Linked DNA regions of Homo sapiens: all the other regions are linked to region 1. The links are contacts of gene promoters, found by promoter capture Hi-C in blood cells and fetal thymus (Javierre and others, 2016). All regions are on one chromosome and are shown on one strand. The core of a region is centred on a gene start or on the middle of the fragment in contact, and the rest is flanking DNA. Distances in the headings are between cores, read along the strand shown.

The links. The method cuts DNA at HindIII sites, captures the fragments that hold promoters and counts their contacts. A CHiCAGO score of 5 or more calls a contact.
Region 2: a fragment that was not itself captured here is called in contact with the fragment with the promoter of MIR1915HG in region 1 in 4 of 17 cell types (non-activated CD4 T cells, naive B cells, fetal thymus and 1 more); the score reaches 8.1 in non-activated CD4 T cells.
Region 3: a contact is called between a fragment that was not itself captured here and the fragment with the promoter of MIR1915HG in region 1, in 3 of 17 cell types (total B cells, fetal thymus and naive B cells). The highest score is 9.2, in total B cells.
Region 4: a fragment that was not itself captured here is called in contact with the fragment with the promoter of MIR1915HG in region 1 in 5 of 17 cell types (total B cells, fetal thymus, non-activated CD4 T cells and 2 more); the score reaches 11.4 in total B cells.
Region 5: a contact is called between a fragment that was not itself captured here and the fragment with the promoter of MIR1915HG in region 1, in 1 of 17 cell types (total B cells). The highest score is 5.1, in total B cells.

What each region holds. Positions count from the first base shown.
Region 1 is chr10:21,495,183-21,499,676 of GRCh38, forward strand. It overlaps MIR1915HG (MIR1915 host gene), which reads right to left and starts at 2,078. Exons shown (of 2, transcript NR_160800.1): 1 at 1,568-2,078; 2 at 1-763. MIR1915 (microRNA 1915) reads right to left here and starts at 1,459; the gene lies at 1,380-1,459. RefSeq lists an enhancer at 1-134 and silencers at 559-998, 1,049-1,098, 1,309-1,558. The HindIII fragment of the contact is 8,649 bases long and covers 1-4,494 here.
Region 2 is chr10:22,229,075-22,233,498 of GRCh38, forward strand. It overlaps TRN-GTT2-3 (tRNA-Asn (anticodon GTT) 2-3), which reads right to left and starts at 508; the gene lies at 435-508. RefSeq lists a silencer at 1-209. The HindIII fragment of the contact is 2,697 bases long and covers 811-3,507 here.
Region 3 is chr10:22,246,315-22,250,347 of GRCh38, forward strand. LOC105376447 (a long non-coding RNA gene) reads right to left here. Exons shown (of 2, transcript XR_001747390.3): 2 at 1,106-4,033. Among named protein-coding and RNA genes, the nearest start is that of TRN-GTT2-3, 19 kb to the left of the region's middle. The HindIII fragment of the contact is 225 bases long and covers 1,919-2,143 here.
Region 4 is chr10:22,307,090-22,311,417 of GRCh38, forward strand. No RefSeq gene overlaps it. Among named protein-coding and RNA genes, the nearest start is that of COMMD3, 7.1 kb to the right of the region's middle. The HindIII fragment of the contact is 2,535 bases long and covers 1,390-3,924 here.
Region 5 is chr10:22,276,679-22,281,158 of GRCh38, forward strand. No RefSeq gene overlaps it. Among named protein-coding and RNA genes, the nearest start is that of COMMD3, 37 kb to the right of the region's middle. RefSeq lists enhancers at 3,088-3,589, 3,590-4,089. The HindIII fragment of the contact is 4,043 bases long and covers 1-3,990 here.

The sequences.
Region 1 (4,494 bases), core at 828-3,327:
ATATTTAAAATAAAGAAAAAAGAAAAACTGAACTTCGATCTTCTTCTCCACGTTCCCTGGTGTCACCAAATAAACAAAGCATTCGGACGAGAGTGGGCTGCTGGGGGCTCGGGAGGTGCGCGAGACAAGGTTACCCTGCGGGTCCGCCACTGCCCCCGGCCTCCAGCACTGCACTGCCCACGAGTTTGCGGGGTGTGAGCGCCGAAGGAGAACCCCGGACCGCCCAGTCTCAGCCTAAAAACTTGGATCCAAGAGTCCTACGGTTGTGGATGTGCCAGTCCTCCGCGACCCTTTCCTGCTGGCCTTCTGCTTTTTATAAACGAAAATAAAAGTTTGATTTAGGCTTAAAGAAATGTCATTCTGGTCGTTCCTCCCTGAAGCGGGACTTACTCAACCTCATATACTCGCCCGGAATTTTCAATCTCGCCTGTCGAAATCGCTAGCTGCGCATCCGCGGAAGAAGTCCTGGATGAGAGGTAGGGTGAAGGGATCAAGCAGATAGCAGCAGGCATCAGCACACTCCGGCCGTTCCGGACGGTCAGGCCCGCCGCTACAGGGAGAAGTGCGGCGGATGGAGCCAGGGCTGCGGGTTGCGCGCGGGCTGGGAACCCGGTGGTGCCACCTTAAGAGTCGGGTCCGCGCAGCGGCTGCGGAGGCGCCCGGCACCTGCAGGGGGCGCTGCTGCCCCGTGGTTTCTCCCGCGCCGCCGCGTGCAGCGGGCCTGGCAGCTCCGGGGCCCCGGTCCCCGGAGGGGGTGGGGACGCTGGGGGAGGAAGGGAGCGAAGTGCAGCCGTTAGGTAACGAACCCGAACCCTCCCGGATTCAGAAGCGGCCTCAGTGAGGCGTTTGCTGGAGGGAGCTTTCCATCATTCGGCCGCGAGAGGAAACGTGGGGAGGCGCCCTCCCCTGCCCCCACCGCCTGCCTTCCTGCCTCCCTCCACCTCCGCTCCCCGACCCCGACCGTGCTTCCCAGACCCTTTGTTCTCGAGGTTGGGAACGGCTGGGTGGGGGTTCCCCGGGGAAGAGGTCCCCCGCGCCGCTCGGAGGGGAAGGGACTGTCGCCTGCCCCGCACCCCAGCCCTCCCCAGTGCCGTCCCCCTTTCCCCCGGCCCCTTCCATCGCGTCCACGCGCTTCCGTTCTCACTCGGACTCCCCCAACTCCCGAGCTCCGGCTCCCCAGCCTGCACGGTCTGCAAGCCCGCCTCCCTTCCCACTTCCCCGCCACCTCTGAGGTCCCCGGGAAGAGGGGAGGAGAGGGAGACGTGTGGGGGAGGAGAAACCACAGAGCCTTCTCGGCGCGGAGCATTCCCAGGGACCCTTCCAGGCCCCGACCCCTGGGACCCGCTGCAGAGGCAGGGCTTTCCCGGCGCCGCCGCAGGTCGCTAGGGCCGCCCCCGCCGCGTCGCCCTGGGGCCCACGGGTGCACGGCCCGGGCAGCAAGGCAAGGTGCGGCCTCTCAGCGCCAGGACCCGAGACCCCCAGCTGGAGAGAAGGGGACACCGTGGTCCGCGCCCTGGGGAGGCTAATTGCACACGAACGCCCCCCTCTTCCCCGCCCCCCACCGTACCCTCTGCAGCGCCACCCGCGTCGCCTCTCCGCCGTGCGCCACCCTGAGGGCTCCCGCGATTGCATCTTCTTGAGCACAGTTACCAATGCGTTCAGCTTCGTTTCTTACTCGGATGGAGACATCGCGGAGGGAAGCGAGGGGACAGGGATGCGGTAGTAGGGGAAAGGTGGGGCGGGAAACCGAGCAGAGAGGTGGGAGACTTGGCTGAGGCAATGGCACCAGGCAGGGCCGCCCGGAGTCCCGAGTCCAGGTCCGCGAGGCAGGCCCCGGTGCAGCCGCGCCCCGGCCGAACCCTACATGTCCTCTGTACTGTGGACACGAGTCCGCGGAGCGCCAGTCACACCCCCGCACCCCTGCAAGCTCCCGCCGTAGAGGGGGCTCGGCACCATCCTGGTCACAAAGTACGTGCCCCCACCCCCCACCCCCAGGTGAAGAGGACGCAGCCCGGCGCCGTCAGCTCCAGGCTGCCTGGAGCCCCCTCCGGCCTCTCGGCGCGACCCTGGTCCTCAATGGCTCGTCGCGAGCTGCGCTAGCTGCTCTCTCGGCAGCGGGTTCCCCAGGACACACCCAGTCCCCACCCCCCGAGAGCTGGCGGCCAGCTCAGGATGCCAGGCGGCCAGGCGGGCGCCCTGCCAAATTCCGCGTTCCTCTCCAGGAGACGGGGAGTTGCGTCCCAGGCTCGGGAAAGCCCGCAGTTCGGGCTTGGGACTCGCTTACAAAGCCCCCCAAGGCGCCAGGGACGCCTCTGCAGGTTGAATTCCTGCTCCGTATCACTTCAATTTTAATTAATCTTTTAAAACACCGCTGTCACGTCGCTTGCAGAAAATTAATCAAACTTGAATCCTTGTTGCATAGCAAGAATTTCGATCCGAGTCTTTTAAAAAGGACTTGACTTTGCAAAGTCACGTCTTTTACAGTTCCCTCATTCCCCCTTTAGCAAGGGAAATACTGCAAAAGTCAAGACATGTTTGTTTGGTTCTTTCTATCTTCAAAATGAAACTTTGCTTATTTCTGATCTTTATTTTCCTGTCTTTGAACAAAAAAAAATAACGAGATAAATTGCCTACCTCGATTAATTCAAAGTATAATTACTTTGAATGATCTTTGTTTAAGAGCCCAGATAAACTAAGATAATCTTAATTTTAATGTGACACGACCCCTATTTTTCCTTGTGAATAATGAGAATAAAGCAGTCATTAATTAATACCAAGATATCTCCATAGAAGATGGTATCTGTTCTCGCTGAGACACTGAAACATCAGTTGTATTAGTAATTGATACTGTATAATTGAACATGAAGATAGCCGTCTATTTTTAACCTCCAAGCTCAGAGTTTATTTGGTGATTATTGAGCTCCTAATAATTAATTTTTTTCCTTCTTACTGCATAAATAATTCTTACGACTCCCAGTTCCCATGCAATGCAGAGGCTTCTCATTAAAACCTACCCCTCAAAATATAAGATTGTGAAGCTATATTGTGCAGCAACTCCTTCTATTTCATTATTTGTAACATATTTCCTCTATTTCATATCTTCCTGGTGCATTTCCTTTGCTGTGATTTTCCTACTAAATCTATGAGAATATAACTATAACATCTTTTACCATAGCTTTGTCTTTCTGTGATCTCTTGGTTCAGTTTAATACACAATACTTAAGACTTCAATTTTTCAAGTTACTAAAATTTGAGGATGAGTTCCACTGAAGAATCAAAAATACTTGTATAGTGAAGTTGCCATGGATTATATTCCCAACCTAACACACAGTCCACTTTAACTCACACTTTTCTGTTGTTAAAAATAGACTTTGCTCAAACACATTCCCTTTTTCCAACTTGAGTTGAAGAGAGTTCTCACAATTTCCTGGGTTAAATGTACATGCTAACACAACCTTTGACATTAAAAAACAAATTCCCCTCCCGCGTTGGAGAGAAGTCTTCCAAACAGTCATGGAAATTTAGACTGTAGCTTTAAGGTATCTAATTATTTCTTAGCCTCAGTTATTTTGGGGCATCAGAATGATCTTCACTTTTTAAGTGGAAATGGTTATGATATTTTTCTCATACATACAAAAAACTCTCTACTTATTTTTCCAATAAAGTGTCTCCCAAGTATGACATGTTGTATACCACACAAATATTCTTAGTACCTCCGCTACCAAATCCATGCATTTTCCCTGTCAGTGCTCTATCTAAAATTCTGGAAAGTATAGAGGGTTTCCACTTTTATTTCCCCCTTAGTACAATTAAAACTTTAGGTCAATATATAACGGAGTGATTCTCTGCACTTGGATTTTATATTTTCCCACTATAATTTGGACTGGAATGGGATTAAAACAGCATCTAGAGTTCTAATCTTGGTTGATGTTTTGGTGTATTCACCGTAATGAGTCCTATTCTCTGGGGTCATGAAGCTCCCAAATGTCAATCAAGCAAACAGATTCAGAAATGCCATTGTTCGACTCCCACGTCACTCGCCTTCCTCTCATTTTATTTAACAATACCGGAGTTCTCTGATCAGTCATTCGGAATATGAGGCATTATCTGGGGAAAATTCACAAAGTGTCTTGATCTTTCTTTGGGAGATACTGTTAAGGGGTTTCCGCAAAGCATAAAGTGCTTGTTTATATTTCTGTCTTTGGACCGCACTGTGGATGGAAAGAACCAATGAATACTGCTTGAAAGGAAATCATACCGTAAATCCGTCAAAAATTAATTCGTCCAGTTGAATGTTACATTTCTATTTTCTGTTTTCGTGTTGGAAGCACCCTGATTTGTCACCAGAGGAGAAGTATGACCAGGTCTGGGTCCAGTTGACATGCCCCCACGTTCAACCCTGTCTATTTTCACCACTTAATACTATTAATGTGTTTAGTCTAAACTAGTTAACTAAGAATTTATTTGGGGGCGAGGAAGAGCCAACCTTTGCCC
Region 2 (4,424 bases), core at 909-3,408, 730 kb after region 1:
ACACTGTTGAAATACATGCATTTCGGTGGCCCCGTTACATTTCACGCGTCACGAAGCCGAGCAAGACCAGCCCGGGCCGCCTTCCCCGTGTACGCGCGGGCCTCCGGGGACGCGCAGAGCTGGAGCGGCGGGCGCGCGCGGCAAACGGGCCCGCGCGGCCTCTGCGCGTCCCCGCTCCAGCACCCTGGCGAGGCCTAGACCGCCGTGAAGACCCCGGGGAAGGAGTGGCCGCGCTCACCTGCAGCCGGGAGAGGACAGCGGGGGAGAGGAGGCCGCTCTGCACCGGCCGAAAGCGAAGGGCTCGCCGGCTGGCCGCGTAGTGTAAGGGTCGGTGGTTTCTTTGCTTGGTCCCTGGAAATCCACCCCTTCTTATCCCGGAGGCCTGAACTCGATTTCTGCAAAACTTCCCGCGACCAGCTCATAAAAGGAGAGCGCGTCCCTGGGTGGGCTCGAACCACCAACCTTTCGGTTAACAGCCGAACGCGCTAACCGATTGCGCCACAGAGACTTCGGTGTCATTTTCCCCTTCTGCCTCAGCCTTTATGAAGAATAATAAAGGCAGTGTGTGGCTGTTTCTGCTTTCTGATTGGTACTATCAGAACCAAAATATTTTACTTCACGTTTCCAACCCTCTTAATTCTATTTTCCACCTTTTAAGCATATCGCAAAATTATACAACAAAATCAAGCAGCATTGCAGATTGCAAAATGTATTAAAATACTGTTGCTCCCCCCCGCCAACTCCCATTTGGAACGTTGTATTTCAGGAAAATAACTATTTCTTATTAGTTTTCTTTTATGAGAAAATCAAAGCTTTCATCTTGTGAGCTGAGAAACTTTCCCTTTGTTTCGAACAATTTGCCCAGTGCTTCGTTCGCTCATCTCTCGTGATTTACTTGTGTAGTATTCCCAAGGTCATCTGAATTTTATTTGGCTGCTTTATTTTTATATTCAGGTATTACTAAATGCATAGATGAAATCCCTATTTGTTTTGTACTAAATACAGTACAATGATTTCACACTAACATTTTGTTACTGGAAAGAAACATCAGGGAAAAAAAGCTACAGGAACATTTCTTAGTTCCAGTGCGTTGTAGTTTATTGCTAAATCTGCCCTCGTCCCTGGAATTAGCCTACACACCCACATCGAAGCATAGCACTTAAAACACACATCTCGAGGGATAAATAAAACCCAATTTGAGGAAAGAGAAGTTAAAGAAGAAAAAGGAATGATTTATACTAACTCCTGCAAATTTTTAGCACAGAAACACTGCAGGTAAACATGCTCCATTCCTATAAATACTTCAATGAAAATCGTTCCCTTTGTGTGAATGTTTCCTGGTGCCTTTTAAGGTACACTTCTAAGTTCCAAACGCTCTTTTTCTCCCTTCTTCTCTCCTCAAATAATTGCGAGTTTCCACTTGAGAACGTGAACGTGTTTAAATTTTTAACAGTCACTAAACCGCTCTGTACAGAATCCCTCCAAAAACAATCGCTATCATGATTTATAGACGTTGTAAGCGACGCGTCTTGGTCCAATCAGCATTTTGAGTTCCCGTTGCATGGTAAGACAACTTAAATTGGCTTTGGAACCAATTAGAAGCCGAGTTCCCTGAAAGCGTTGAGATGTTAAACAGCTGTGAATTCACGCCAAGCTGCACCACGCCACTTTCAACAAACTTTTGGAAGTGCACTTGAAATTTTTGAATTTGAAAAAACAATCTAGGAAATGCTTCTACAGAGTGTATGAGAAGTCTCATTTCATTAGACGATGCTGCTTTGTACTTGGTAATATTATATGTACCTGTTAATGGGAGCTAAAACTATCAGGTACTGGCTTTTCTTCTCCAAATACCAAACTGAGTGTCCTTTCCTCTGTTGTTTTTGTGACTATCCAGTTAGAACAGACTGCAACGGGTGTACTTCACTGCCCCATCATTCAATGTTTACTCTTCTGTTTAAAGTAATATTAGGAACGGTTCTACTCATGTAAATCTCTTCAGCTCCAATATCTTTTCCTCACTTCAGTCATCATACTAGCATTTGACTTCTAACAAGAGAGATAATGAGAAACAGTCGATGAGAAAAACTAACTCAGAAAGGAATATTAACTCATTCTAGGCTAAAAAATTGTCTATGTAAGTACCACTATTGGTTTTAAAACTGTCTTCAAGCCTGGTTCTGTAGTTTTTAACATTTTACATAAAATGGCTGTTTCCACGGTTACTTAGCTCTGCCTTGTTTTCCCTCTCCACTTGAAACTACTTCAAAGGAGCATATAAATGTTTAAAATATTGAATGGACTCTGAACATTTTATTCCAATGGTATATATCAAGCACATCTTTTATGCAGAATGATCACTAACAAAAATAAGGGAGAAGAATGCATTGTCATCTAAATCTTTGTGATTATCTCATCTTAGGCCATAATATTTATGTTCAGTTTTTAAAGCCAAACTAAGCCCACTGGATTAATTTTAGAAACATACATTATCTTTTCTTAATTTTAAGATAACCCAAGATAAATGAGTCCTATAGCTTCATTAGCACTTGGGTCTTTATAACTGCTAAAAGTAAAATGAACTGGGCATTTTGCCCCCTTTTTTGTGTATTATACACAACTGAACTGCAAATTTACTTTTCCTAAGAATATGCCCTATCAATGGGGCTCATCTGTGCAGATTAATGGGCATATATATTTTATTTTCTTCTTGGAGAGGAAGAGAGAAAAGCAAGAAGATCTGTGCAAATAGGATTCACCTGTCTTAACAGGCAAGCCACAATGGACCACACTGATCTAACACCTTCCAGATACCATGAATCCAAGGCTTTCAGATAATATTCTTCCAGCTTCATCCCAACAGCATAGGCAACTCACAGGGTTGCCATTAGCAGGATTGTGCATGACCTGAATTCTTCTTCATTTCTGTATTTCAGAAGTATGGTGACGGAGTCGTTAAAAACGAAAAATCCAGTTAAAAAAAATTTTTTTTAATAGCCGGGTATGGTGGCTCACACCTGTAATCCCAGCACTTTGGGAGGCTGAGGCGGGCAGGTCACCTGAGGTCTGGAGTTCAAGACCAGCTGGCCAACATGGTGAAACTCCGTCTTTACTAAAAATACAAAATTAGCCAGGCGTGGTGGCAGGCACCTATAATCCCAGCTACTCGAGAGGCTGAGGCAGAAGAATCGCTTGAACCCGGAAGGTAGAGGTTGCAGTGAGCCAAGATCACGCCATTGCACTCCAGCCGGGGTGACAAGAGCAAAAACTCCGTCTCAAAACAAAGAAAAACAAAGTTTGGAATTGTTTTTTAAATCAAGTGAGTTACAGAAGTCATCCCAATAAGTGGAAGGTGGTGGCACCAGGAAATAAGTTAAAAGACAACACTACACAGATGTCTCTAAGAGCAAGAGGAGAATTATGAAACCAATTCTCAAAACAAATGCTAATCATATTTTACAACTGATTTATGAGTAAAAGTAAATCGAACCCTTCCAACCAGCCTCAAGCTTAAAACCACGTTTCCTACTCACCAAAAGTATCCTTCTCATATAAAACTGGAGGACTAAGGTCAGTTATGTTTAACAAGCCAAAAGGAGCATCACAGAAGCTAGCATTCGACTGGGCATGGTGGCTCACAACTAGTAATCCTAGCACTTTGAGAGGCTGAGGCGGGAGGATAGCTTGACACCAGGACTTGAAGACCTGCTGGGGCAACATAGGAAGACCCCATCTTTACAAAAAATCCAAAAATTAGCTAGGTGTGGTGGTGTGTGCCTGTAGTCCCAGCTACCTGAGAAGTCGAGGCAGGAGGATCACTTGAGGCCGGGGAGGTTGAGGTTGCAGCTGCAGTCAGCTGTGATTATGCCACTGCACTTCAGCCTGGGTGACAGAGCAATACCTTATCTCAAAAAAAAAAAAAAAAAAAAAAAAAAAAAGGCAATCAGCATTAAGGTATATTAGTATATTTCTTTTTTATTATTTTTTAAAGTTGTATCACTTAGTTGGAAAATCTTGTGAAATTATTCAGATAATTATCTCTAAAAAGACATGGTTTAAGAGAAAAGCTAAAGGGGGGCAAAATAATGCATCAATAATCTGCCTGGTGGGTTCAAACAAAAATTATATATATATTTTTTACTTTGTGAACCTCTCTTTTGTATATGAAAATACTTTCAAACCATTTTTATAGCTTTAATAATGCAGAGCTAAAATTTTAATCACTGCAGATCTCTTTAGTAGAAGAGTGTTATTTGCAAACAGTATCAATGATTTCACCTGGGTCCAGACCAATACAATCTTGGATCTAGCTAGAAATGGTTGCGGGGTGGAGGGGTAAGAAGGAGAACTTTAACTTTCTTCAGTATACTGGGGAAACTTCTGCTGAAAGACCTTATGGTTATCTCAGTAAATTGGCTAAGTTG
Region 3 (4,033 bases), core at 781-3,280, 750 kb after region 1:
TGAGACAAAGTTTTCTCTTGTTGCCCAGGCTGCAGTGCAATGGCGTGATCTCAGCTCACTGCAATCTCTGCCTCTTGGGTTCAAGCAATTCTCCTGCCTCAGCCTCCCAGTCGCTGGGATTACAGGTGCCTGCCACCACGCCCAGCTAATTTTTGTTATTTTTTATTAGAGACGGGGTTTCACCATGTTGGCCAGGCTAGTCTCAAACTCCTGACCTCAGGTGATCCACCCGCCTCAGCCTCCCAAAGTGCTGAGATTACAGGCATGAGCCACCACACCCGGCCCACGAAACATAATTTTATCACAGTATCTATAACATTCTTTTGCACTTATTTATTCACCTGTCTGCCCCACTAGGCTATAAACTTGTGAAGGTTCAGGACCATGCATGACTCATTTTTTCATTCTCTTTGCCCAGCAGAGTGACTAATACACAGTAAGTGATGAGTGGGTATTTGATGAATACATAAATTTCAAAAAGGGTGTGGCTAAGCCCCACAAAAAGTTCAAGTAAGTTAGAAAATAAACACTGTCCATTGGATGAAAAAGTTCAGAAGTAACTGATGACATTACGCAAAGATATTTTAAGGGAGTGATGGCTTTCAGGGAGATGTAGCTGACAGTGTTTACTGCCTACCCAAAAACCATTCCTCTGTTTCTTCTTTGCTTAACTGAATTCCAGTTTGATTTAGGCATTGAGCAAATTCCCTTTGATGTGGAAATGTGGGCCTCTACCCCAGATAAAGGGTGATAATATGTCCCAGTTCTGGCTAATATGATGTAAGAGGAAATCCTTTGGTGGGGCATTTTGGAAAATATTATACTTCCTTGACGTGAGTAAGACTCACCAAGAACAAATTTTCTGTTGCCTTCCCACCCAGCAGTCAGTGTGGTTTTTGTACTTACGGCAGCCATTTTGCAACTATGATATGAAGGTCAACTGAATCACAGAGGTGATATCACTGAACCCCCAAGAAAACACTAGCAACTCTTTATCTACAGACTTCTTGTCACATAAGAAAAATGAGCCTCTGTGTTAGCTGGGTTGTCTGTTACATTCTAACTGATATAAGAAGAGAGAAAAGAGAGACAAATGAGAGACCACTGTTCTTAGTGAATATATTACAACTAGTACAGTTTGGTGGCTGCAGGATACAGAGTTTGTTTGGTAATTTTGGAAAGAGGCTGGAAATGGAAAAGCAATGGGTTACAGGGGCTTCTAATGCCAATGAAGAGAAAGGCTTTAATTTTGTTGGCAATAGGGGGCTATAGAGGTTTTGGGGTAATGTTTTGGAACTTTAAGAAGAGTGCTTTGGCAGAAATCAGCAGGGTCTATATGTGCCCAAAGAGTGATGCCTCAGAAGCAATGCATTTGGCATAATCATATTGGTATTGTCCACCACGAGAATCACTTGGTATACAAACCTGGCTCACTCAGTTCACACTGAATAAGCAAAACAATAACCACTTGGCTTCATGATGCTTTTCGACCTAAAATAAACACAAGGTATCAAAGCAAATGAAATGTTACATCTTTCCAGTGCTCCATATGAATAATCCCTGTGGAAGTTATAAGTAAACAAAACTTCTGTTCATAAAAAGTATCAATGACAGATGTAAATACTGTATAAACTCCTGCCATATAAAAGGAGAAAATGAGATCTCACATATCCTTCCACAATACCAATTCCTGACACTTAGCACAACAAATTAGACACACTTAATAATTATTACACACTAGGCTTGAGATTATTCAATAGTTTTTTAACCGTGTTTCTATAATGGTGTGGAGGTTTTTGTTTGCTCACTTTTTAAAAACATTTTCCACGATTTCATTATAGGAGAATAAATGCTCTTATACATAGTCATAGTTTCAAATATGTTTCTGTTCTTCTCATTTAAATCTACTCAGAAAACAAGCTTACAACAGAAGCCAAACTAGGAAAATCTCTGCTGTGAGTATCATATAATATTCAAACACTGCCCAGGAAAAACACTGGGGAATGGTGTTTTCTTTGCCCTCAAAGAAAAGCACGTGAACACCATCTTACAAGATTATTATTGACTAAGGAAAAGAAATGTGTCATTTGTTCATTCTTTAGACTAGGAATTGATGTTAGAGATTTTTAAATAAATTATAACAAGCTTTTAACAATCTACAAAGAACAAAAAGTGTTAATGTCTTCCCATAGTTGCCTCTGATCTTTTTATAAAGAATTGCTGTGGGCTGGGCGCAGTGGCTCATGCCTGTAATCCCAGCACTTTGGGAGGCTGAGGTGGGCGGATCAACTGAGGTCAGGAGTTCGAGACCAGCCTGGCCAAAATGGTGAAACTCCGTCTCTACTAAAAAACACAAAAATTAGACGGGCATGGTGGCAGGTGCCTTAACTGGCTACTTGGGAGGCAGAGGCAGGAGAATCATTTGAACCCGAGAGGCGGAGGTTGCAGTGAGCCGAGATCGAGTCATTGTACTCAAGCCTGGGGGACAAAAGCAAGACTCTGTCTCAAAAAAAAAAAAAAAAAGAGTTGTTGCCCCCTGGGCAGGAAGTTGTTGCCCTCTTCCTATTCCCCCTCCTTCCTTCTTTCTTTCTATCCCAAAGGAAATTACATTTTTTGAAGTTGATATGTATTCATCCTATTGATAGTACTATACTTTCACTTCATATGTATATATCCTGGCCCACATCTTTTATTTATGAAATTCATTATACATAAATTAGTAAATTCTTTCTATATAAGTTATTTATACATTTTGAATATGAATCCTTCACCAAGTACATGCCTTGAAAATATCTTCTCAGTTTATCTTGTAACATTTTATGATATCTTTTGTCATGTAAAAAGTATTTTTAAAAATTTTTATATACAGTCACATGGCACTCAACTACAGGGACATATTCTGAGAAATAGGTCCATAGGCAGTTTTGTCATGCTAACATCATAGAGTGTAATTACACAAACCTAGATGGTTTGTATATGGTACAAGCCTATTGCTCCTAGGCTGCAAACCTGTACAGCATGTGACTGTATTGAATACTGTAGGCAATTGTAACACAATGGTATTTGTATAATTAGACACATCTACACATAGAAAAGGTACAGTAAATATACAATATTATAACCTTATGGGACTATTATCATGTATTGACTAACATATCATTATTTGGAGCATGACTGTCATCCAATTGATCATTTCCTTAATGGATTGTGTATTTTAATGTTTTGTTTAAGAAATCCTTTCATACTACAAATTCTATATTTCCTTTCAATTTTTTTTGTTTTTTTTTGAGATGGAGAGTTACAGAGATAACTCTGCTGCCAGGCTAGAGTGCAGTGGCGCGATCTCGGCTCACTGCAATCGCTGCCTCCCAGGTTCAAGCGATTCTCCTGCCTCAGCCTCCCGAGTAGCTGGGATTACAGGCATGTGCCACCACAACCAGCTAATTTTTGTATTTTTACTAGAGATAGGGTTTCCCCATGTTGGCCAAGATGGTCTCAATCTCCTGACCTCGTGATCTGCCCGCCTTGGCCTCCCAAAGTGCTGGGATTACAGGCGTGAGCCACTGCGCCCAGCCTTCCAATATTTTTTTAATTCTATTTTTCTTATTTAACTTTTTAATTGATCTGAAACTGAATTTGTATGTGGGCAAAAGAAGGGATCTAATTTTATTTTTTTCTTATGAATGTTTGTTTTCTAAATAAGAGAAAATAAAGGAAGCTCAATTGCTCTTTATAATCCGTAAACCCCTTAACAACAGTCACTATGATTTATATTCATCCCATCAATACACTTCCTCAAAGTACTTTGAACATTACTGGTACATAATCTATATTTTTTGGAGAAGAGATACTTTTTTCCAGCCCCCATTGCTTAGACTATATACCAGTTGTCCACCTAAAATAATCTAAGTTGTGCTTAATTTATCCCCCTGAGCAGGAAATAGCATCTTAATAGGATTAACTTGGTATAAGCACTGAATAATTCCAATTAAACTGAAGGGTATTAATCACTTCCCTAACTTTGCCCATTTTT
Region 4 (4,328 bases), core at 1,407-3,906, 810 kb after region 1:
AGTGAAAAGACAGGGAATGGAATGGTCCACTATGCCTTCTAAAGAGAGAGATGTTTACAAGCAGGCTGACCATAATGAACATTGGTGGGCTCTAAGATTCTTGAGGGATCAGGAGGTGAGAAGATAAGAGAATTATTGTCATCAAGGCCTTTGAGGGCATCATATGACTGCTGTTATTAAAAGAGCTCTGTAAGGTTCACTTTACAGTTCCTGATAGTGAAGAAGTGCCAGGCAGCACCCAGAAGGTTTTCGTTTTCATTTTCTAAATAGGGGCTTATGTGCTTGGGGTCCTCAAATGGTTACATCGCATGCGCACCTGCACCAGTAAAACCTCACAATTATAGAATTACACAATTTGGTTAAAATTACCAAATAAATACCAATAATGGTGCATGTGCCTTAGGTCTTAATACTTTTCAAGAGCCATGTGAAAGAGATGCTATTATTATTTCCACTGTACACTTTAGGAAAATTAGACTTAGAGAAAATAAGTCTTTAGTCCAAGGTCATAGAACTGGAAGCAAGTGGGATACTGGCATGAGCCCCGTTTTCTGTACTCCATGCACTATACTGCCTTCATTCATTGAACAAATATTCTTGACTATCTATTAAGTACCAGGTACTTGTCTAATAAAGGACTCTCTATGAGAACAGTAAAGTAAAAAAGTAAAGAAGTTACAACCTATGGTGCTTTTTTTATAACCCATATTAAAAATCCTATCAACTTCAGTATACTTTAAGAAGGTATTATAACTTATTTATATAACTTTATAGCAATCCTTACAGTTATTAAGATAAAAAACAGCTTGTTAAGCAAAGTTATTAAAATCTCCCTATTAAATAAAATTGAATACATTACTGGATAAATGCTCCCCAAAAAAGAGTTTTTTGATATTTCTTTTCAATAAATCTTGTTACAAATGAGTATGTTTTTAGAAAAACTGATATTCCACTTGAAACAAAAGATAAACACTGATACTTAAATTTGCCACTTAAACCCTTATATTTTCCAAAATTATCATTCATATAATTATTGAGATATCTTAAAGAAAAAAGAATGACTATTTTTATTCAAAGAATGGCGCAATATTCTTATAATACTCAGAGAAGTACTGGCTACTCTCCTATTATTATATTTAGCTGGAATGATTTAAAATTTTTGGCTAACATATAACTATGCCTAAGAACCTGATGACATTTCTATGTAAAGTTTTTTTTTTTTTAAAAAACCATCTTAGGAATCATATTGAATATGTTTAAATCTAGCCAAGTTTTTATCTTTATACTTTTCTTAAACTTTAATACCATAAAAGAAAGCTAAGATAAAAAGCTTAAGCAAACACAGTTAGATTGTCTTTATACTATTTATAGCAATGGACAGATACTTAAAGCTTACTTAGCTAAAGATTTAAGTCTGTTACTTTATGACATATGCTTTCCCCCAACCCCTGTTAACACGGCAGGATGTTTGCAAAATGACTACTCTCCTGTAGTGACTCTTGATTTTAACCTAACAGACTATCATTATGACTCAGTTTGAACATTTGTCATCATAGATGTCATAGTTTCTACAAACAGACAAATATTGATCATAGCAACTTTTAGAAATAGAATAAAACCAAAATGAAATTAAAATTAATTTAAAAGTATTCGTTTGAAAACACTCTTTTAGGTTTCTAGAAGCACTTTAATTATTGGTTAAACTGACTTCTAAACATCTGTATTTTATATTTTTATTTATGTTCATCTTGCTACAAAAATAATTTAAGGCAACTTTCAAAAGTATATAAAAACATATGTAAGAATATTATTTTCCTTCTATTATAATTGACAAGTGCAAAATCAATTTTTTTCCAACATTTCCAGTATACACTGTTGAAAGTTCTTTATAAAGAAGAATGTATATTGCTATTGAAACTTATAAAACAAAATATGTATGTCTTTATTGATACTTTTGGTCTTATAAAACTATTTTTTATTTCAATTCATAAACATTTTAATTATTGTTTAAGCAAAAATAAAAGTTTTCTTATAGATCTATCAACTACTCACCTATATATCACAGCTAGGCCTAATTTAAAATTTTCTTTCATTTTCAAATTCTAAGAAAACCATTTGAAAATTCAGTTTTCTTAGGGCCTTGTTTACCCACATATTTCCATCTACATTGTTATTCTTTAGCAAATTTCTCCTGTTTTTGGTCTGTAATTTATAGAGCACTAAAAGTCAAATAAAAGTTGCCAATTATCTGATTAATTTTGATTTAGAATACTGCTGCTCTAAATGATCCGGCCTATTTCTGTTAGCATTAAAAAAAAAGAAAAAAGAAAAAAAGAAAAGAAAGTTGAGTAATTACGCCAGTAATTCAGGTCCAAGTTTCTAATTACATGGACTAAACTGACTATATAAATACAATTCTCCCTTTCACCTGTTGCTAGTCATTATTTTCTTGGTGTTTTGTTACATTAAAAAGATTTTATAAAACTTGCCTCCCCATCCCCTTTCATAAAATATAGATTAAAATGCTTACACAAAGAAAATTAATTTTGAAAATAACATTTGAGAGAGTTAGAAAAACATTTATGTTTTAACCTTAATAAAACAATGAAACAAAAGTTCAGGGAAAAACTGAGTATATGGGAAGAAACACAGTGGAAAAGTTTAATCTATTTTTTTAGGTGCTTGTTTTCTCAAAACTCTGTAAAACTACTTTCTAAACATTCACCACGGTGTAAAAATCAGCTACGTATAAACAATTCAAAGTATTTTCTGAATAGTTCTAGCTATGTAACAAATGTGAAAAAGCTGAACACAATTATTCTACTAGGATTTTTAAAAATGTAGTTTTTAGACTGACTTATCCATAAAATGGCTTCAAGTCTATATTTAATTTGAAAAGGGGGATAAAATCAGTATTCTGTTGAATATAACAACCATAATAGAAAAGTTAAATTCTTTTTTTTTGAGACAGAGTCTCACTCTGTTGCCAGGCTGGAGTGCAATGGCACGATCTTGGCTCACTCAACCTCCGACTCCCAGGTTCAAGCAATTCTCCTGCCTCAGCCTCCCTAGTAGCTGGATTACAGATGCATGCCACCACGCCTGGCTAATTTTTGTATTTTTGGTAGAGACAGCGTTTCACCATGTTGGCCAGGATGGCCTCGATCTCCTGACCTCATGATCCACCCACCTCGGCCTCCCAAAGTGCTGGGATTACAAGCGTGAGCCACCGCGCCCGGCCCAAAATGTTAAATTCTTAACCAGTATCATTTTAAATATTGTACACAATTAAAAATATTAAAACACTTATCTAGGCTTTCATTGCCATGTAAGCTCTTTTGAAATATTAATTTTGGTTTAAATGCTTACTTTAAATGAGTTAAAAGTACTTTAGCTGTAAAGTCTCCTTAACTGTTTATAATGTATTTAATGCAAATCATCCCTTCTTATATACTAACTTCCATTCTAAAATGCTTCATTTGACAAGTGAATATAGTTACATTTTTCAGTTTATAAGCAATTATACTGTTACTTTGGTTTTAATCTACAAAAACCTTTATTTTTGTTTTCATTTTTGTTTGTAAAATTATAGTTCCTTAAACAAAATATACTTATTTGTACACATTTTAACATGTAAAAAGCATGTTCTCAAAATACAAACTTGAAAAAGTTACTGGCTTTCAACAATAATATCCCACAGCATAGGCCCATTTGTTCCATTTTTTGCTGGAATTCGTGAAACCAACCCAAACTCCAATTTCTAAGGTATGAAAAAACACAGAGATTCCAAATCCAGACCTAAAAAACGAAGAGACTCTGTTAGACATTCTCTGCTGTTGTAGTCTAAATGTAGGACATCTTGAAACTGATTAGATTCTGGACAAAACAGATGATCTTTCAGTCTTTTCCAAGCCTTACTAATGAAGCTTAGTTGAATTCATTGTAGCTAAAAGAATCTTGGATTGTGTCACAGAAAATAAACACTAAATAAGCTTTCTGTGACACTTCTCAGGTCCTTTCTCTCTTCCTTCCTCTTCCTCTTTCCCCCCTTTCTCTCTCTTCTTCCCTCCTTCCCTCCCTCTTTTTAAAGATATAAAACAATTTAAAGGACTGTCTGTGTACACATGGAAGAATTAGATACAGTCATCAATGTAAACTTGTTTCATGTCTCTTCTTCACTTTACCCTCCTACAGCTAAGCCATGGGCCATCCTGGCTGATACCAGATCAATGATATAGGAAACTGAAGTGGTGACGTTTATAATTTTAGTACAGAAAAAAAAATCAACCTGCTGTTGAGGAGGTAACTGTGCTTATTATCTAAATGGT
Region 5 (4,480 bases), core at 719-3,218, 780 kb after region 1:
CTCTTATTTGGCAAAGATGTTAAAGAAGACAGAAAAATAAAAGTAGAATCACTTAATTTCTGTTTTCTCAAGTTCAATTACATTGTCTTTATTCCTTCCAAAAGAATAAAGATGGCTGGGTGCGGTGGCTCACGCCTGTAATCCTAGCACTTTGGGAGGCTGAGGTGGGCAGATCATATGAGGTCAGGAGTTCGAGACCAGCCTGGCCAACATGGTGAAACCCCATCTCTACTAAAACTACAAAAATTAGCCAGGCATGGTGGCAGGTGCCTGTAATCCCAGCTACTTGGGAGGCTGAGGCAGGAGAATCACTTGAACCCGGGAAGCGGAGGTTGCAGTGAGCAGAGATTGCGTGACTGTGCAACAGAGCCAGACTCCATCTCAAAAAACAATAATAATAAAGATTTGAAAATAAAACATTAGAAGGAGAGCGAAGTCCAAAACAAGTGGGAAGAGTGTAACAAAGGACCTATTTCCACAATGCCATACGCAAAAAATGTTGATTGAGTGCCTTCTACTTGCAAAGTACTTGATATGAGGCTATGGAACATAAACCAAATCCAGTTCATGTGTCCAAGGAGCTTACAAGATAGAAGTGTTAAGGAATGTGGCTTGGTGCAGTGGCTCACGCCTGTAATCCCAGAACTTTGGGAGGCCAAAGTGAAGGAGGCCAGGAGTCTAAGATCAAACTGAGGAGCACAGAGAGATCCTAACTTTACAAAATAAAATTTTAAAAAATTAAAAATTAGCTGGGTATGGGATTCCACGCCTGTAGTCCCAGCTACTCAGGCAGCTGAGACAGGAGGGTTACGTGAGCCAGGAGTTCAAGGCTGCAGTGAGCTATACGTACACCACTGCACTTCAGCCTCGGCGACAGGGCAAGACTGTGTCTCAAAAAAAAGTGTTAAGGAATGTGTATCAGACATTTTTATAAATGTCATAACAGAGGTGCAGGTAAAATCCTGTGATCATTCACAGAAGAATAAAATCACCTTTCAGATACAGGATTCGGATCAGGTTTCATGGAAGAGGCAAAACTTTTTGTAAATCTCAAAATGGGTATGTTGTCAGAATGGAATGGCAAAAGAGCCTGGAAAAAGTAATGTTTATTCTGTGTGGTCTGTGTCTGCTAAAATTCCAGAGTTACTGTAGAGAAAGGGAGAGAATGGATTTGGGAGCCAATAGCAGTGTCTGCCACACCTGGCTCATATGTATACAGACTGCAGCAGGAAGGCAACGTCTGGCTACGATGCACAATACATGTGTGTCCTTGGTATAGCTCCTTAGCAGGAATATTCTGGCTAGTAAAATAACAGAGTTACTCAGGTGGGATAGCATGGTTGTTAACGGTGGAGGGTGTCCAGGTTCTTGGCATCTTGAACAAAGAATTCGTCAAAACGCACAAACAAAACAAGGAAGGAATGAAGGGATTACTGAAAATGAAAGTACACTCCGGCCGGGCGACGTGGCTCACGCCAGTAATCCCAGCACTTTGGGAGGCCGAGGTGGGCGGATGACGGGGTCAGGAGATCGAGACCATCCTGGCTAACATGGTGAAACCCCGTCTCTACTAAACATACAAAAAAATTAGCCGGGCGTGGTGGCGGGCGCCTGTAGTCCCACCTACTCGGGAGGCTGAGGCAGGAGAATGGCGTGAACCCGGGAGGCGGAGCTTGCAGTGAGCCGACATAGTGCCACTGCGCTCCAGCCTGGGCGACAGAGCGAGACTCCATCTCAAACAAACAAACAAAAAAGAACGTACACTCCACAGTGTTCGAGCGGGCAGCGGGAGTGAGCATAGGGGCACAAAGGCCCTGTTACAGTTTTTGTGAATTTAAATTCCCTCTACTTAGGGTACACCCTATGTAAATGAAGAGGATGAAGTGAAGTTACAAAGACATTTCCTGATTGTATGCCCTATGGAGAGGATATTTCCTGTTATAGCTGAAGTGTGAATCTGGCCTTAGCTTTCCTGCATCCAGACCCTATTTTCCCGCCTCATGGTGAATGTGTTATGAGGTTACTAAGATGGGGAAGAGAGGAGAACAGAAATGTATCTAACAGAGGGACAGACCTGAAGAAGTGGAGAATATCTTGTGAGATTTCCCCCACCTTTTTCATTCTTGGCTATGCCCTGTCGCCTGCCGAGCCTCTTTTCATATTCGGTCTGGAATGCTGAAACCTCCTTTTCCTCATTCCCTTTGTTATCTCTATATCTTGTTCCCTAGAAATAAAGATTTGAACTTTAGCATGAGCTGTACTTTTGCTACAGACCTTCTATTATCCAGCTACAGTGTTGACATACTTAATCTCCTTTAATGGGACAAGTAATGAACTCAATTAGCTGGAAAACCTCCATGCAAAGAGAAAAGACAACTCTTACCATATAATTCACAGACATTTCCCTTGATTCACATTATTCCTGCATTAAAGACCTTCTATGACCCCGAATATCAGTTGGTTACTCGCTAAAACTGACTGTAGAGCAATTTCGCCTTAAGCAGATTTACTTAACGAAACACTAATATGTAATTAACTGGACTGAGAATTTGATTTGCATACTCTCAAGGAACAATTTTTTATTATTTAAAAACAAAACACTTGACATTCTAGAAGGGGCTACAAAGACATCCCCAAAGGTCAATTAGTCCTACAACTGATTACCTAAATATTTAATAGCACTCAAACACAGTACTAAATGGGCTCTAATTTGTTTGTGAAAAGAAACAATGCCACTTTACACACGGCTGCCAAGTTTTCAGTAAACAAAGAGAATATGGTCTTGGGAAACTGATGAATCTAGTTTAAAAATGCGACAAGATCCTCCTGTGCTCCTTCCAAACATGGCAGTGATTTTCCACTAATTTTCTTCCTGATGCTTTTTTCCTTTAAGTCTACATGTTGATGCACCCCAAGGCTCAGTCTTTGAATTGGTCTCTTTCCTAGGTCGTTCTCAAGTAATCTCTAGGCTTGACAAACTTCCTCTGTATTGACAGCTCCCAATGTTATACCTATAGCTCACACCTCCTCCCTGAACTGCAGTCTCAAATATATCCCTGCCTATACAGCATGGCATGAATATCTAGCGGGCATCTCAAATTTACTGTGTCCCAAATGGAACTTCTGATTTTTCCCCCAGATAAAAACTGTAAATCCCACTCTCTTCCCCATCTCAATAAATGGTAACTCCCTCCTTCCAAATTGCTCAGGTCCAAAGCCTTGGTGTCATCCTTGGCTCTTCTCTCTTCTCCTGCACCCCCACATGTAACCTGTGAGGAGGTCTTATTGGTTCTACCTTTATAACCTATGCAGACACCAATCCCTTCTTACCACCTCCATCATGACGTACACTGCCATAATCGCTCCCCTAGATTCTTGCAATAGTCTCCTAACTGGCTTTCCTACTTCAGCCTCTCCTCCAACCCTTATACCTAATGTCTACTTTGAATAGAGCATCCAAGAGGATCCTTTGAAAATCTCCTCTGCTCAAACCCTTCCAGTGTATTCCCATCTGGGATAGAGTCAAAGTCTTCGTGGCTGTCTCAAAAGTCCTCGACTGGTCCCCCGCTGTGCTCTGCCTGGTCCCCCGCTGTGCTCTGCCTTGTCCCCCGCTGTGCTGTGCCTCTGCTCTGGCCACAGGGGCTTCCTTGCTATTCTTCCAACACTCCAGGTGTACTCATTCCTGGAGATCTTTGCCATTGTCGCTTCTCTACCAGGAATACTCTTCTCCAGGTGTCTTCCTAGATATCTTCAGGTCTTGGACTAAAAGTCACCTTCTCAATGAGTCTTTACCTGACTAGCTTATTTAAAATTGCAACTCCCACTTTCACCCCAGCACTATCTTCCATCCCTTCTTTACTTTTATCTATCGCACTTCTCATCTTCCAATATATATTTTACTTATTTATTTGTTTATTGTCTGTCTCCCCTCACTAGCAGGTAAGTTCCATGAAGGCAGATAATTTTGTTGGCTTTAAACACCTAGAACAAAGCTTGGCATAAAGTAAGTACTCAATAGATTAATGTTAAATTAATAAATAAGTAAACAGTGATTATTTATGACTAACTAGGGGAAAAATATAATTAACAAGGATGTTTTCATGAAGGATAGACTCCCTAAGAGCAGTCACTATACCTTTTCCTTTTTTTTTTTTTTTTTTTTTTTCGAGACAGGATCTCGCTCTGTCACCCAGGTTCCTGGAGTGCAGTGGTACAATCACAGCTCGTTGCAGCCTCAAACACCTGGGCTCAAGCGATCCTGCCTCCTCAGCCTCCAAAAGGGCTAGGATTATAGGTGTGAGCCACCATGCCTGGCCATTTTCCTTCTTTTTGGCTCCATCATCTAGCAGAGTTGTGTCATATTGTAGATATTCAATAAATACTTATTGAATCTAGTTGAATATTTGTTGAAGAGCACAGACTGAAGCTTGTGTTCAAATCCCAGCTTCTCTGGTTATTGGCTGTGTAAGCTAAGGAAAAG